Regions from separate parts of the Homo sapiens genome. Here region 1 is linked to region 2. Evidence: promoter capture Hi-C in 16 types of primary human blood cells and fetal thymus (Javierre and others, 2016). All regions are on one chromosome and are shown on one strand. The core of a region is centred on a gene start or on the middle of the fragment in contact, and the rest is flanking DNA. Distances in the headings are between cores, read along the strand shown. Region 1 overlaps LINC01234 (long intergenic non-protein coding RNA 1234). Region 2 holds the start of LHX5 (LIM homeobox 5).

Evidence for each region. Contacts are between HindIII fragments. The CHiCAGO score rates a contact against its expected background, and 5 or more counts as called.
Region 1: a fragment that was not itself captured here is called in contact with the fragment with the promoter of LHX5 in region 2 in 1 of 17 cell types (megakaryocytes); the score reaches 5.1 in megakaryocytes.

What each region holds. Positions count from the first base shown.
Region 1 is chr12:113,743,276-113,746,890 of GRCh38, reverse strand. LINC01234 (long intergenic non-protein coding RNA 1234) reads left to right here. Exons shown (of 3, transcript NR_110026.1): 3 at 296-2,314. Among named protein-coding and RNA genes, the nearest start is that of LINC01234, 29 kb to the left of the region's middle. The HindIII fragment of the contact is 802 bases long and covers 1,842-2,643 here.
Region 2 is chr12:113,470,172-113,473,663 of GRCh38, reverse strand. LHX5 (LIM homeobox 5) reads left to right here and starts at 1,793. Exons shown (of 5, transcript NM_022363.3): 1 at 1,793-2,338. The coding sequence starts at 2,166. It overlaps LHX5-AS1 (LHX5 antisense RNA 1), which reads right to left and starts at 1,661. Exons shown (of 2, transcript NR_126425.1): 1 at 1,582-1,661. RefSeq lists an enhancer at 1,911-2,711. The HindIII fragment of the contact is 6,712 bases long and covers 1-2,450 here.

The DNA of each region.
Region 1 (3,615 bases), core at 993-3,492, 270 kb before region 2:
ATTCAAGATGTCCAATGTGATTATTCGACATATGAATACACTGCAAAATGATTACCACAATAAAATTAATTTTTTTAGTGGCCACTCTGGGCAAGGGAGGTACAGTTCCTGGTTTTGAGGCTGTTGTTTTGTTTTGTTTTTGTTCATGGGAAGCTGCACCCTCCATGCTTGGACACCTGCATTTCTTGGGAAGCTTTTGAACGCTATGACTTCTGGTCTCACCACTACCCCTCCATTTCAGGCTCTCATGGGTTCAGTCCTGGATGCTGTAACAAATTCTTCCCTCTCTTCCCAGGTGCTAGCCAGGATCACTCCCTCCGAAGTCACACCAGAGGGAGGGCTGGAGGGAGAATCAAATGAAAGAGAGAGGGAGAGAAAGGAAGGAAGAGAAGGAGGGAGAATGGAAGGATGTATGGATTTGGATGTATGGGTTCCATTCCTTCTACCCTGGCAAAAGCTTACTCATCCTTCAGTGTCCATCCAAAATGGCATCTCTTCTTGGGCACCATCTCCAGAGTCTCCTGCAAGCAGGTAGCTACATCCCACAAAACAACCACCCATCTGACCATGCAAGTGTGTGGGGGAATGAAGACCAGCCCAGGAATCTGAGATGAATGTTTTGCTTCTTGCTCTGCCACTGACTCACAGGGTACCCCAAGCAAGTCCCTTCACCTCCTCGGTCTCAGTTTCTCCATTTATACTACTAAGGCAGTGGACATGATGGCCTCAAGTCTCAACATTTTTATTCCCTGAAAAGAAACTCTTGGTGCTGAGTGGTCTTCTTCTGCCCTGACATCTCACCTTTCAAACGCTTGTCTCTTCTCACCCCACCCACCACTTAGCATGTGCTCTTGGAGAACACCCAGGACTCAGGGTCTCTGCACACATCATGAGTCCAGCTCAGCATTTGAGGTGGAATCAGAGGAAAGGAAGGAGAGTGGGGAGAATAGTCAGTATTTTGGCAAGCTCATCATACCTTCCCCCTTTGTATAGAAACTTCAAACCATTTCCCTTTGAAGGCACTACCTCCTTCCCCCAGTTATAAATGAGTGAAGGTCTCAAGCCTGGACAACCAAATGCACAGTGATTGGTTCAACTCTGGACCTGTGACTCAAGCCAGACCAAGGGAGTGACATGCAGGGCTTTGCCTGGAACTATTCTGAAAGGGGCACTCTCTTTCTGCTGGGCTACTGATAATATGTGCATCCGTGATAGAAGAGCCTGCCTGATAATAAAGCCAATAAGGGAAGAGCAGAGCCAAGAGATGGTGGGAGAGCAGATGCCTGAAAATATCATTTGAGCCCCTGGGTCCAGCTGCACCTGAAGCCACCACGATCTCCTGGACTTTGCAGTTACTTGAGTTCATAAATACCCTTTGGCATTAAGCCAGATTGAGTCTTAATGCATATAGAAATAAGAGAAATGAGAAAAGAAATTGAAAAGAGAGACAGCAGAGAACTGATTCTCTACTAGAGCCTCCAGAAGGAATCAACTCTGCCAACACCTTGATTTTGGACTTGTGGCCTTCAGAACAGTGAAATGATAAACATCTGTTATTTTAAGGTACCTAGTGTGTAACATTCCGTCATGACAGCCCTAGGAAATGAATACAGCGAGGAAAATCCTACCAGCACAAAGGCATGGAGGTGCCAGGATGTCTCCTCTGCGTGAAGAGTAGATGTAGATGAGGCTGGAATTATCTATCCTAGCTGCCCAGACCCATGTGCCTTTGTTTTATGTAGTTACAGCACCTATGATACATATTTGTTACCATGTATGTCACTATGAACCTCCTCTGGAGGACGGAGAAGTCAAATACCTTAATTATTCCAACACAAGCTTGCGTGAACAGATAATCATCACTACGAGTATATTGTGTGCCTGCTAAGCACCACACCTGAGATAAGCATTTGCTGTGGTTTGAATGTCCCCTCCAAAGCTCATGCTAAAATTTAATTGCCATTGCAACAGTGTTGCAAGGTGAGAACTTTAAGAGATGATCAGGTCATGAGAACTCTGCCCTCGTGAATGGATTAATACCCTTATCGCAGTAGTGGACCCCCCTTTTCTCTTGCTGTCTGTCTCTCATGTTAGCTTGTGCTTCCTCCTTTCACCATGGGATAACACAGCAAGAAGCCCCTCACCAGATGCTGGCACCTTGCTATTGGACTTCCGGCCTCCAGAACTGAGAAATACATGTCTTTTCCTTATAAATTACCCAGTCTGTGGTATTCTGTTATAGCGGCAGAAAATGGACTAAGACGGCATTTTGCATACATTATCTGTCTTATTAAAAATAATGTTTTTGCCCAGGAACATAGATTCAAGTTGCCCTGAATATACATTATCTCCCTACATTATCTCTTTTAATCCTCACCTATTAGGTAGATAAACTGCTATTATCCCCATTTTGCAGGTGAAACCTCAAGCTCCCAAAGAACTGCAGCATCGAGGAAAGTAAAACCAATAGCTAGCATGTTCAGTAGTCCCCTTTACCCATGGTACAATACAGTACGCTAAGATATTCTGAGAAAGTGAGAGGCCGCATTCACGTATCTTTTATCGCAGTATATTGTTACAATTGTTGTATTTTATTCGTTATTGTTGTTAGTCTCTTATTGTGCCTAATTTATAAATTAAGCTTTACCACAGGCATGTGTGTATAGGAAAAAACAGTACGGATGCTCCTCAACTCACAATAGGGTTATGTCCTGATAAACCCTTCGTTCAGTTGAAAAGATCTTTAAGTTGAAAATGCATTTAATACCTCTAACCTACCAAACATCAGAGCTTAGCCTAGCATACCTTAAACATCCTCAAAACACTTACACTAGCCTACAGTTGAAAAAAAATCGTCTAACACAAAACCTATTTTCTAACAAAGCACTGAATATCTCATCTCTTAATTTTAATTTTTTTTTTTCTGAGTAACAGGCTGCTCTGTTACTCAGGCTGGAGTGCAGTGGCATGATCATAGCTCACTGCAACCCTGAACTCCTGGGCTCAGGCCATCCTCCCACCTCAGCCTCCTGAGTAGCTAGGATACAAGTGCGTGCCACCACACCTGGCTAATCTTTTAATTTTTATTTTTGTAGAGACGAGGTACTGTTTCCCAGGGTGGTCTTGAACTCCTGGCCTCAAGTGATCCTCCCACCTTGGCCTCCCAAAGTGCTGGGATTACAGGCGTGAACCACTGTGCCCAGCTTCTTCTTATATATTGAATACTGTACTTAAAGTAAAAAATTGAATGGTTGTATGGGTACTGTAAGTATGTTTTCTGCTGAATGCATATCACTCTCACACCATTGTAAAGTCAGAAAATTATAAGTCTAACCATCATATGTTGGGGACCATCTGTGTATTACTATCCATGGTTTTAAGCATCCACTAAAAGTCTTGAAATGTATCCCCCTCAGGTCAGGGGACACTGCTGTAATAATAAAAACAGCTTGCACTTCCACAAGATTCAGACGTGCCAGATAGTGGTCTAAGAGCTTTGCATGCATGTTAATTCATTTCACTCTCACAGTAACCTGATGAGGGACTTACTATGATTCTTCCCATTTTACAGGTGAGGAAACAGAAATAAAAAGACACTAAGGGCTTGCTCAAGCT
Region 2 (3,492 bases), core at 544-3,043:
AACTACTGTTTGCACAAATACACACATTTGCAGGCACACACACACAGCGACTGGCACACAAACATAGCTCTTCAGAATTCTGCACTCACAAACACAACCAAGCCAGCTCAGTCTCATACACACAGGGTCTCAAGCATGCACGCCCTCACCTACACACAAACACACACATTCAGATTTTTCAAAGTACACCTTCACATCAATGCTTGCAAACACAGACACAAACACTCTTACGTGAATGCACACGTACACATGAAAACACCCTCACATTTATGCATCCTCAAATAAGCAAACACACATAGGCACAGACCAACAAAAATAAAAGTGCACACAGTGATAAACACAAACATTAGCAGGACCATACACAATTACAAACACACGAATCTGCACACACGAAAACGCACACGCAGAAATTTACTCACAGGATTGATGGTACTAACACAATAAACAGATGCAAAAATGGAATTCTCAAACAGCGAGTATACACTAACAAGCTCAGGAAACACACCCAAACAAACATTCACAGCCAAGTGCTGGCACAAACCCCTCCAGCTCCAGCCCTTGGTCCCAGGCCCTACTCCCTCAGCCCCCTTTCCAGAAGCGAAAGGCAAATCCTGGTTGCCCATTCCCGGCTTCCCCAACTAGGATCCCTGGTGGCCACGCTGGCCCCAGGGGAAAGGAGGCCTGGTCCCTTCTCCTACTCAGACCCACACACCCCCTCCTCACGCACACCTGCCAACATCCCCCCTCCCCCTTAACACACACACACTCTCTCTCCTCACACTCTGGGCGCCCTGCCGAGCACGGAACATACGTGCGCCGCTTCTCCTGCGCCCAATGAGGGGACGAACTTGCACACCCAGCCCGCACGGCGTGAATACAAACAGCGCTCTCATAGTCGCTGGTGTCCCCCGCCTCAGCCGTACGACCCACTCACCACAGTGCCCCATAGGCTGACCTGGAATCTGGAAGGTGCAGCGAGGAAAGGAGAGACGTGGTGAGTGCCACCTCCGAGCTGTCTGCGGGAAGACCCGTCCACCCTGAATCTCCCCCTGTCCACATCTCCCTCAGAGCCCCGTGAGCAGCGCACTCAGGCCTGAAACTCTGGAGTTCGGGACCAGGCCAAATGGCACCCCTCCTGCTCCCCCGCCTCCCCACCCTGGGCCTGGGCCTGGGCTCGGCGGCCGGGCGGGGAAAACTACCCAGGCCGCGCGGTCTCCACTAGCTCTCTCCATGAGAAAGGCCCGGCTGGGCCCCAGCCCCGTGTATGACAAAAAGAAGCCGGGGCCGGCTCCAGGAGCCGGGAGAACCGCGCTGACGCAGCTTCAGGGCGCAGAGGGGGCGCGGGGGTGGGGGAATCCAATCTGGGCTGGCTGGGCTGGAGAAGGGGAGCGAAGTGTGGGGCGTGGGGCAACTTCTGCAAGTTCCAGGGATGGCGAAGGGGGCAGGGGTACCTCCCGGACTAGGCCTTGGAACCCGTGACCCCCAAATATTTGTGAGGAGAAAGAGAGAGGAAGAGAGACGCAATTTTCGTTTCGCGCTGCCCCCGCCCCGTCAGCCCCAAACTGGAAGGTAAATACTTACTTAGCCTCCGAACCAGGTACAAGCTAATACTCAACAATACTGATGCCTTGTTTTTTTTGCTCTGTCCGGACAGCAACGCTGTAGCCAATTTAGATATGCTATAAATTTAAGAGGTTGCCATGGCCACGGTGCGCCCATTGGCCGCTGGGCCCCCTACGTGCAGCGCCACGTCACCAAATCTGAATAAGGATGCGCGAATTACGCGGCGACCAGACAAAGATGAGGATCCGGACCGCTTGAAAGTGGGGGAAAGTGCCGGCGCCTCCGCCACCGGGGAAAGCCGCTCCGCAGCGCCGAGGCCAGCAGCCACCCGAGATACCTGGGGAAGCCCGGAACAGGCGCCGGGGCGTGCGGCCCGTGGCATGAGGTTGTGAACGCCACCCGCCCCCCACCACCCCACTCCGGGCAGCCCAGCGCCAGGCCAGAGATTGCCCAAGGACTGGACCGGCTGAGTCTTGGTCCGGACCAGACTCGCCCTGCAGCTGCTGAGACAAGAGGCGAAGGGCAGCGGAGGGCCCGGCAGGCCCGAGGGCCAGGGGCCCAAAGGGAGGGCAAGGCGGCCGAAGCCGCCGGGGCGCGGGGCTATGATGGTGCACTGCGCCGGTTGCGAGCGGCCCATCCTCGACCGCTTTCTGCTGAACGTGCTGGACCGCGCGTGGCACATCAAATGTGTTCAGTGCTGCGAGTGCAAAACCAACCTCTCGGAGAAGTGCTTCTCGCGCGAGGGCAAGCTCTACTGCAAAAATGACTTTTTCAGGTAAGAGGCCGCGCCGCTCTGCTGCCTGCGCGCCCACCCTGCGCGCGCTCCACTGGGGCGCTGGGGAAGGGGATACCCCCATCCCCATCCCAGCCTCCCCGGATCACAAGCTTAGATGGGGAGCGGGCAGCACTTTGCTCTCCTCCTGTCCTTGGTCCAGGAAAGGTCCCGAGCCCAGGCGGAGGAAGAAGGACGCTGCTTCGCTGCCTCACGTTGGCTCGAGGCCGGCTCAGAGCGCTGGCGGGGCAGAGGGAGGAAGCCCTGACAAACTTGCTATCCACTCCTCTCCGCCCCTTCCAAGCAGCTGCAACCCCAAGACAGAAGCTTCAAGCCCCGTCCCGAGAGAGAGGAAGGATTTTTGCATGAGTTAGAGACGCCTGAAGGCTTCTCGCTCCAGGCAGAATGTGTGAGCCCATCGGCCGCAATCCCAAACAGAAACTTCTCAGCTCCAGAGGGGGCCCAGCGAGGAAGGTCTCCCCTGGTGATGGGAGGAGAGAACCTCCCCCACCCACCTCCCAACCCCTTAAACATTTCCTCCCATGTTGAAAAGTAGAAACGAAATCGAGGCTGAGAATCAGGACCTCTGGGGTCTAGACTGGGCTGTGGCACCTCCCCAGCCCCCCTACCCCTGTGGGCCCTGTGGCTGGCCAGGGCAGATCACCTCTCTGGGCCTCAGTTTCCCCAGCCTGGAAGCCACTGGAGTTTGGGGCAGCTGAGCCCTACCTGTTTCCTCTGGGCACCCAGAGCCGGCTTTGTGAACAGGAATTCCCCGCGCTGAGGAATGGGGGCGTGAATCACGCCACAGAGAAAGGCAGCCTGCCGGCCCCAGCGACTCCGCACTGAGAATTTGAATGGGAGAAAATGTCAGCCGCTCCTTTACACGTGTTAACTCCCTGGACCCGGAGGCCCGATGCCCCTAATGTAGCAGTGCTTGCAAAGTGCCTAATGATTTTTGATAAGGTGCATATGGCCAATTACGCTGCCGGATAAGGCCAAAAGTGACTTATGGCTTCTAATGCCCTCACTACATCAATGTCACCCAAATTCGCCCTGTTTAGAGACATGGGTGTGAGTAGATGTGGGGTCCCTAGAGTCCTGGGTCCTCCCCCACCCCACCCCCAACCTGAGCCTCACCCATCTCCTATTTCGGGGGA